2 separate regions of the Homo sapiens genome follow, and region 2 is linked to region 1. The links are contacts of gene promoters, found by promoter capture Hi-C in human tissues and cell types (Jung and others, 2019). All regions are on one chromosome and are shown on one strand. The core of a region is centred on a gene start or on the middle of the fragment in contact, and the rest is flanking DNA. Distances in the headings are between cores, read along the strand shown.

The links. The method cuts DNA at HindIII sites, captures the fragments that hold promoters and counts their contacts. A contact is called where the count stands out against the background at its distance.
Region 2: a contact is called between a fragment that was not itself captured here and the fragment with the promoter of ADAM2 in region 1, in 1 of the 25 tissues and cell types used here (H1 embryonic stem cells).

Annotation. Positions count from the first base shown.
Region 1 is chr8:39,835,763-39,840,877 of GRCh38, reverse strand. ADAM2 (ADAM metallopeptidase domain 2) reads left to right here and starts at 2,651. Exons shown (of 21, transcript NM_001464.5): 1 at 2,651-2,747; 2 at 3,666-3,742. The coding sequence starts at 2,693. The HindIII fragment of the contact is 9,732 bases long and covers 1-5,115 here.
Region 2 is chr8:39,118,531-39,123,752 of GRCh38, reverse strand. The region is part of intron 2 of ADAM32 (ADAM metallopeptidase domain 32); the gene reads right to left. Among named protein-coding and RNA genes, the nearest start is that of ADAM32, 13 kb to the right of the region's middle. The HindIII fragment of the contact is 4,905 bases long and covers 721-5,222 here.

The DNA.
Region 1 (5,115 bases), core at 1,402-3,901:
ATGTCTGTAATTACTGTAAGGAAATGGACCTAATACTTCAATTAAAGTCAGGTTCATCATACTGAATTTAAAAATCTGTATGTTATTTATACACAAACACACACACACAAACTTTAAGGATATGCCTTTAAAGTGAAATATTTTTTTAAAATATCCCAAGCAGATTCTAATTATTTTTTTAAAAATCTGGCTATGGAAGTGATAGATAAAATAAGCTTAATGGCAAAAAGCCAGTATGGGCAAAGAGTGACATTATAATGACATAAGTTCACTTCATCAGGAAGACAAAACCTCCCTAAATGAGTTTTAAAAAAATAACTTATCTTCAAAATATGATAATTAAAAATTGATAAAACACAAAGGAAAAATAGAAAAGTATTCTTAGTTGGACATAATAAAAGAACAAGAATTAATAAGGATATAAAATATTTGAAAATGTATTATCCAACTTGATCTAGTTGACATTTAAAGAATAATATAATCCACAGCTAAATAGTCTGCATTCTTTTAAAGTTTGCATTCTTTTAAAGTTCGAAACATTCAATGTAATGAACCATATAATGGGCAATGAATTTTCTCTTAGTGAATTGCAATGACTTGAAATTATTCAAAATACAATCTATGATCACAATGGAATTGAGTTAGACATCAATAAAAAAGTAATTAATACATGCTTAAATATGTGGCATTTAAATAACACCAATAAACATGTGGGGCAAAAAGAAATCATGATGAAAATTAGAAAACATTTAGAATTGAATATTAATGAAAGTAAAGTATATCAAAATAAAGTATAAGAATACAATGGTGAAGTTAAAGCAATGAATAGATAGAAATTTGGAAATACATGGAAATTTGTAGTTTAAAGGCATAGGTTAAAAGAAGAAATGTTTAAAATAAATAATATAAACTTCCAATCTTAGAAGCTAGAAAAGGAACATTATGCCCAAAGTAGAAAAAAGGAAAAGAACCCAAGAACAAAATCAACAAAGCAGAAAACATACAACAGAAAAAAATAAAGAAATCCAAAACCGAGTTCCTGTAAAACTTAATAAAAATTATACATTCCAAGACCTATTTACCCAGTATAAAGAGAAACATCACAAATTATCAACATTGAGAATGGAAGAAGAGATATGTCTGCAGGTGCTATAGACCTTAAAAAGTTGCTAGAGGAGAGGAAGTCATTATGAACAACTTTTGTCAATAATTTAACAACCCCAAAGAAATGGACAAATTCCTTCAGAAACATAACTTTCTCAAACCAACACGAAAAGAAAAAAATATGAATATTTTAAAGAAATTAGATAAAAAAGTAAATAAATCTTCTCATGAAGAAAACTCCAGGTCATAATCACTCCATTTCTAAATGCTAAGAAACATTAAAAGAATAAATATTCACAGCATTACACTATTTCAAAGATTAAACGAAGAGATAACATTTCTTAATTTCTTTTATGAGGGCAGCATGTCTTGATATAAAAGTTGGTAAGTTCATTACAATGAAGGAACATTACAGACAACACAACAACACAACAAGGCATTGATGTGTACGAAGTGGAATTTTCATATACTTCTGGTGAGAGTATAAATTAGTACAGTCTTGGAAAACTTGTCGGAAGTATCTACCAACACATACCCTGTGATCCGACAACTTCACTCTAGAAATATACACAGTAGAAATCCTTACTTATTACACCAAAAGGCATGTAGAAGAATGTTTATAGCTAAATATTATTTTTAATAGCTGGAACAATAAACAAACAAAATATTCATTAACAGTAAAATGGAAACACAAGTGGTGTTATATTTAATGAATTTGTAATATACACCAATGAGGATAAAACAGAACTATTGCTTTGTATGAACCTTACAATCATCCTATTAAAAGAACCCAGACATGAAAGAGTAGATGGTGATTGCTTCTACTTGCGAAAAGTTCAAAAACAGACAAAACGAATCTTTGGTTGTTTAGAAGTCATGGTTGTGAGGTTGGAATCTGGGGATTTGGGTGGTTCTTTTTCATTTCTTCATCGTGGTACTAGTTACGCTGTTTTTTTTTTCCACTTGAATATTAATTGACCTGTGAACTTATGATTTATTATATACTTTTTTTCGTTTTTTGTTTCGTTCTTTTTTTTTTTTTTTTTTTTTTTTTTGACGGAATTTCGCTCTCTCACCCAGGCTGGAGTGCAGTGGTAAGGTCTTTCTGCTCACTGCAACCTCTGCCTCCTAGGTTCAAGCGATTCTCCTGCCTCAGCTTCCCGAGTAGCTGGGATTTCAGGCACCCGCCACCATGCCTGGCTAATTTTTTTTTGTATTTTTAGTACAGACGGGGTTTCACCATGTTGCGGAAACTGGTCTCGAACTCCTGATACGTGTTTATATATATTCAATTGAAATTTTACTTAAGAAGTGTTTATAAATCTTCCTGTTCCTCAGCTGTTGGAAGTGATTTTGTTGTTGCTGTTGCCTTAATTAGGCATCACGTCCAGTGGAGTGCTTGTCCTGCAAGAGACAGGGCTCAGGAGCTCGCACGTTCCACAGCGCACCACACCCAACCTCAGCCCACCTGGGCTCTCCCAGCCGCCTACCTCTTCCAGGCTGCGTGGCCGGGGCGTCATCTCGCGCTTCCAACTGCCCTGTAACCACCAACTGCCATTATTCCGGCTGGGACCCAGGACTTCAAGCCATGTGGCGCGTCTTGTTTCTGCTCAGCGGGCTCGGCGGGCTGCGGATGGACAGTAGTAAGCAGAAAAACCCCTCCTCTGGCCTTTTGGGACCCTCAGCGCTACTCTCCCTTTGCCTCCAAGTTACATTGACATCCCTGGGAGGATGCTTTCCTGAGGGGTTTCCAACTCAGCAATTCCAAGCTCATCCCCGACATTGCCGCCTTCCCCACCCAAAATCCACGTAGAATAAGGGCTTTCCCACACGTCCTGGAAACCTAGGAAAGATAAGATAGGAGGTCCTAGGCCTTAAGAGGTTGCTTCAAAATTGTAGTTTCAGATCCTGCTTTGCATTTTTCACGACAGTGAAAGTTGAGACCCAACTTCTGTACTCTCTAGTTGAAGAGTCCAGAGTGAGTTAATTTGTCCTGAGGGGCTTGAACCTATTGACCCAAGGTTACCAGATCCTACCTACAGGGCAATACTCCTAAAGCAATACACCTACTTCTTTTTTAAAAAAATATGGCCGGGCACGGTGGCTCATGCCTGTAATCCCAGCACTTTGGGAGGCTGAGGAAGGCGTATCACGAGGTCAGGAGATCGAGACCATCCCGGCCAACATGGTGAAATCCCCCTCTACTAAAAATATAGAAAATTAGCTGGGGGTGGTAGTGCGTGCCTGTAGTCCCAGCTGCTGGGGAGGCTGAGGCAGGGGAATCGCTTGAAACCGGGAGGCGGAGGTTGCAGTGAGCAGAGATCTCACCACTGCACTCCAGCCTGGGCCTGGGCGACAGAGTGAGACTTCGTCTCAAAAACAAAAAAAAAAACAGAAAAACAGAAAAAAAAACCTCCTTGTATTTTTAGAAAGAAATGGGAAGATAATAAAAATGAGAAGCAGCGTATAGAATAGAGATTAGAGATTTAGATGAAAAACTCATAAAACACGCTCTGAAATGATGGGCATTGTTCTAATAAAACATTTTGCACATTTTGCAGATTTTGATAGTTTACCTGTGCAAATTACAGTTCCGGAGAAAATACGGTCAATAATAAAGGAAGGAATTGAATCGCAGGTAATGAATCACTAACAGTATTTACAAATTTAAAATGATGTAAAGATTTTGTTTCTAAGAAGTTAATCTGCCATTTTTCATTCATGCACACCTGTTGAATTTTATATTTATACCAAATTTTCCCTGAATGGAAAAGCCCTTTTGAAAATGAACCAGGATCAACAATGTTTCACAGAAATAATGGTGCAGTGATGCTGGTTATCAAAGCCCCAAGTCCATTTTCTGAATCTGTCTTCCTCTTGGATGTCTTTGAATAATCATTGGCTTGATTGTTCTAGAGATTCTGTTCTCACTCACCGTTCAGGCTGTATTTGGAGGAATTTTTTGTCATTGTTGCTAAGTAAGCCTTGGCTTGCTTATATGGGATGATGATCACTTGAATTAATGATGTGTTATATTAATGATTTTTTTAGCCCTGATTGCGAATATGTTAATGATTAGAACTCTTTCTTTCATGCTATTTTAGATTATTTTAGTTCAGAATTATTACTCTCTTTTTAAAATTTGAATTTAAAATCTTCTTATCATTTTCACTAAGTTCTAGAATCCATTTCTGAAGTGGAATGTGGTTTCTTGAGACATCAATTTTTTTTTTTTGGTTTGGTAGCAGATGTTCTGGTAATTTAAATGCAAACATTTCCTTAGCATATATCCATTTGTCATCCTAATACAGACATTATAGCTTAAGATGTTATTTAAATCATTTTTAAAGGAATGCATATCTATATATCTATTACTAAAACAAATCATTTAAATAGAAAAAAGCAGTGAGGCTTTTAACAATATTTTATGAAACATTTTTAATGTAAAATTATTATGGAGATGTTAATAATAGTAGAAAATAAGCAGAGAATCTATTTGGAGAGAAGTATTTCAAACAAGAATAACTTGATTGTTATAAGATAGTTATTTGCAATAAGTAAAAAAAAATGCCCATTTTCAACTGTCAAATTCATGAGGAAAAAATTGTCTATTTTGTTAATGTCTGTATTCTTCTTGCCTAGAACAGTGTCAGATACAAATGCTATGTGTATTTATGCTTTTGTGCACTAATCAGGCTCATTATTTTCTCATTTGTAAATGAGAAACTTGGAATAGCTGGTCATCAAAAAGTTCCTTTTTGATTTTGTGGTTACCAAAACCAAAACAAAGCACCACCACCAACAAAAAAATAGTGCAAGGGATAATTGTTGACCGTCAGTTGCTTAGGGAGTTAATGGGAGTTAAGGAGTTAAAGGGAGTTAAATACACAATTAGCATAATAGCCTAGTTTATTTTTAAAATACTGTAATGAATTAACAGTATTTTTAAAACAAACTAGGCTATTATGCTAATTAATTCAACAAATACTATAAACATAATATGAAACTATA
Region 2 (5,222 bases), core at 1,924-4,423, 720 kb after region 1:
CCTGGGAGACAGAGTGAGACTCCAACTCAAACAAAAAAAAAAAAAAAAGGAAAGAAAATTACCAAACTTTAATGACAGAAATTAAAGCTCTAAATAAATGAAAGTATCATACATGTTCATAGATCAGAGCACTCAATATTGTAAAAAGAGCAATTCTCCCAAATTAATCGATACATATTAAATGTAATCTCTATCAAAATCCAAGCAGTTTTTCTTGTAAAAATGAGCATGCAATATGGGAAATGAATTTGGAGGGAACCACAAGGAAGAATGTTATGGATTGAATTGTGCCCCCCGACCAAATCCATATGTTGAAAACCAAACCCCCAGTGTGGAGACAGGACCTTTAAGGAGATAGAGTTAAATGTGATCATAGAGGTATTTTTAGTTGTTCTAAAAATATATATGGAAATAAAAAGGACTTAGAATAGTCAAAGCAATTTTGGAAAAGATGAATAATGAAGGATTTACACTACCCAATTCCAAATCTTGCCCTAAAATGCACAATAATCAAAGCAATGAGATCTTGGTGCAAAGAAAGCCAGCTAGATAAATGGCAAAGACATGAAAGTCCAGAAATAAACCTTTACATTTTTATTTACTTGATCTACAAAGGTATCAAAACAATTCAGTGGGGAAAGTATAGTCTTTTCTACAAACAGTGCTGGGAAAGTTGGATCCACAGGCAAAAAAAACTGAACTTATATCCTGACCTCACACCATATACAAAAGTTTACTCAAATTGGCTCATAGACTATGAGCTAGTAGAAAACACAGAAGAAAATCTTTGTGAGCTTGGGTTAGGTAAAGACCTTACATTAGTCTGCTTAGGCTGCCATAATAAAATATTACAGGCATGGTGACATTAACAACAGAAATTTTAGGACCAGGTGTGGTGGCTCATGCCTGTAATCCCAACACTTTGGGAGGCCAAGGTAGGCAGACCACTTGAGGTCAGGAGTTCAAGACTAGCCTGGCCAACATGGCAAAACCCCATCTCTACCAAAAAATAGCCAAGCGTGGTGGCACATGCCTGTAATTCCAGCTACTTGGGAGGCTGATGCATGAGAATTGCTTGAACCTGGGAGTCAGAGGTTGCAGTGAGCCAAGATAGCACCACTGCACTCCAGCCTAGACAACAGAGGAAGACTCTGTCTCAAAACAAAAACAAAAACAGAAATGTTATTTTCTCACAGTTCTGGATGTTAGAAATCCAAGATAAATATGCTAGCAGGTTGGTTTCTGGTGAGGCCTCTCTTTACGGCGTGTAGGTAGCTCTTTTCTCACTATGTTCTCACATGGCCTTTTTTCTGTGTATGCATGGAGACAGACAAGGACCTCTTGTATCTCTTCCTCTTCTTATAAGGACACCAGTCCAATCAGATTAAGGTCACACCTCTATGATCACATTTAACTCTATCTCCTTAAAGGTCCTATCTCCATACTGGGAGTTTGGTTTTCAACATATGGATTTGGCGGGGGACACAATTCAATTCATAACATTCTTCCCTATGGTGCGCCCCCCAAATTCATTTCCTTCTTGCATGGAAAAGCCCCAAAGCCTTAACTCATTCTAGCATCAATTCCAAGTTCAAAATTTCATCTAAATGTCACTTAAATCAGGTATGGTTGAGATACAAGTTATGACTCATCCTGAGGCAAAATTCCTCTCCAGTTGTGAACCTGTGAAACCAGACAAGTTATGTGCTTCCAAAATACAATAGTAGAACAGGCATAGAATAGCTATTCCCATGCCAACAAGGAGAAACCAGAAAAAAAGAAAGGGGTGACAATCCCAACAAAGTCCAAAACCTAGCAAGACAAATTCCGTTAGATCTTAAGGTTCAAGAATACTCTTCTTTGACAGGATGCTCTACCCTGCTGGGCCCACTTGGACAGCAACTCTCCCATGGCCCTAGGGACTGGCCCCATCCCCTCAGCTCTGTAAAGCGGCTCTGCCCCCACAGCTCTGGGTGACAGCCTTGTTCCTGGGGTAATAAACAGTGACATCCTAGACTACTGAAACCAAGGAGGTGGCCCCACTCTCTGAAACCAAAGAGAATGCAGCCTTGCCTCCTGGGCCTGTAGCAGGAGTGGCAGCCCTGATGATCTCTGAATTGCTTTCAGGGTCATTCTTCTCTTTTTCTTTTTTTATTATACTTCAAGTTCTGGAGTACATGTGCAGAACATGCAGGTTTGTTACATAGGTATGCACGTGCCATGGTGGTTTGCTGCACCCATCAACCCGTCATCTACATTAGATATTTCTCCTAATGCTCTCCCTCCCCTAGCCCTCCACCCCCCGACTGGCCCCAGTGTGTGATGTTCCCCTCCCTGTGTCCATGTGTTCTCATTGCTCGACTCCTACTTATGAGTGAGAACATGCGGTGTTTGTGAAGAATGATGCATGTTTGAAGCCAGACAACTCTATCGTCCTATCCTGTAGAATCCCAGAAGTTAAACAGCCTTCCTTCATTCTATCCAATTTTCTCTGTTCCCTTTAGTTCCAGCTGGCAGTGTTTCTGCTGATGTAATCCCGTCTCTGATCCTGGCTTCACTTGACATGGCGGATTAAATCATGAGGAATCTTTTTATTGTCTGATTGTCCAGCTACACCTTTGGTGTTCTTTCTAAAACATCATTTCTCATTTTAAAAAATACAAAGTAGGCTGAAAATTTCTCAAATCTTCAAGTTCTTGTTCCTTTTTGCTAAATAATTCCTTCCATTTACCTCTCTTCTCTTGCATTTTGCATTTTCTATAAGCAGTGATGACAAAACAAGCCACATCTTCAGCATTTTGCTTAGAAATCTCCCCAGCTAAATACCCAAGGTTTTCCCCCACAATTTCTACCTTCTACAAAAGACTAGAACACAATTCAGCCAAGTTCTTTGCCACTTTTTAACAAGGATCTCCTTTCCTCCAGTCTCCAATAACATTTCTCATTTCTATCTGTGACCTCACTAGAAACACTTTTTTTTTTTTTTTTTTTGAGACGGAGTCTTGCTCTGTCACCCAGGCTAATGTGCAGTGGCCCAATCTCGGCTCACTGCAACCTCTGCCTCCTGGGTTCAAGCAATTCTCCTGCCTCAGTCTCCCGAGTAGCTGGGACTACAGGTGCCTGCCACCACGTCCAGCTAATTTTTGTATTTTTAGTAGAGACAGGGTTTCACCATGTTACCCAGGTTGGTCTTGAACTCCTGACCTCAGGTAATCTGCCCACGTCAGCCTCCCAAAGTGCTAGGATTACAGGTGTGAGCCACCGTGCCCGGCCCAGGAACACCTTTAATGTTCATATTTCTACCAGTTCTATTCTGTTCATAATGATATGTATATTCCCTAAGACGATAAAAGCTTTCTCTATAAGTCTTTTCTTTCTGATCCTTCATTAGAATTACCTTTAGCATCCATATTTCTACCAACAGTCCCTTCAAGGCAATCTAGGCTTCTTCTTAGCATGTACTTCACCAGTCTTCTAGCCTCTACCCTTCACTCAGTTCCAAATCCACTTCAACATTTTTAGGTATTTGTTACAGCAGCACCCCACTTCACAATACCAAAATCGGATTACTCTGCTCAAGCTACCCAAACAAAATGCCACAGACAAGGTGGCTTAACCAACAAAAATGTATTTTCTCACAGTTCTGGAGGCTGGAAGTCCAAGATCAAGGTGCCAACAGGGCTGATTTCTGGTGAGGCCTCTCCTCTTGGCTTGCAGACAGCTGCCTTCTTGTTGTATCCTTTCATGACCTTCAGTTTGTATGCATGAACCCCTAGTATATTTCCTCTTCTTATAAGTACATCAGTCCTATTAGATTAATTAAAGCCCTACCCTTGTGACAGCATATAACCTTAATTACCTCCATAAGGCCCTTGACCTCATGTAACCTTAATTACCTCCATAAGGCCCTATCTCCAAATATAGTCACATTAGGGGTTAGGGATTCAACATATGAATTTTGAGGGGCCACAGTTCAGTCCATAACAGAGTTCTTAGATACAAAACCAAAAACAAGATCCATAAAAAGAAAATTTGATAAACTGAATGTCATCAAAATTGAAAATGTTTGTGTTTGAGAAAACACCACTGAGAAAAATGAAAAAGCAAGCCAGAAATTGGGAGAAAATAATTCCAAATAGAGAAGTTGTGTCCAGAATATATAATGAATTCATAGAACTCAAAAATAAATAAACAACTAAATTTTAAAACAGGAGAATAATTTGAGTAGACATTCCACAGAAAAGGCATATAAATGGCTATTAGGCTCATGAAAAATACTCAGCATAATTATTCATTAAAGAAATGCAAATTGAAGCCACAATTACATACCACTACACTCCCACTACAATAGCTTTAATCTGAAAGACAGAAAACATCAAATGTTCACAAGTATGTGAAAAAACTGGAACACTCAAAAATTGCTGATGTGACATGTAAATTGGTACAGTCACTATGGAAAACAGTGTAGCAGTTTCTAAAAATGTTAAACACAAACTTATCATGTGCCCAGCAATTTCACTCCTAAGAATCTACCCAAGGGAAAATATATGTCCATACATGAATGTTCATAAAAGAATTATTCATAATACTCAATATCAGAAAACAATCCAAAGTCCATCAACTGGAGAATGAGAATGGATAAGCAAAATGTGGTATATCCACATATAAGATATAAAAATTAATAACCTGATAAATGCTACAAAATGGATAATCCTAAGTGAAAAAAGTCTAATACAAAAGCTTACATATTGCATGCTGCCATTTATATAAAATGCCCCTAAAGAGGCAAATACATAGAGATAGACAACAGATCAGCGGTTGCCAAGGGCTGGAGAAGAACTACAAATGTGCATAAGGGATCTTTTTAGGATTGATAGCAACATTCTACAACTGGACTGTGGTAATGTTTGCACAATTCTATTTATGTACTGCTGTAATAATTGTTGAGTTGTACCCTTAAAATGGGTGAACTCTATGGTGTTGTAAATTGCACCTCAACAAAACTGCTAAAAATAGAATGTTACCAAAAGATTGGTCACTTATAAGCAAAGCTTGCTTAATTATATTTCTTTTTTTTAAATCTCCTAAGACACCTGGCATATAGGTATGCACATGGCAAGTCTAGAGAAATAGTTGCTAAATAAATCAATGAACAAAATAAAGTATTTCCCTTTCTAATAAAAATAGTAGAATGAAATGTTTCTTCTCGTCTGAGAATTGCT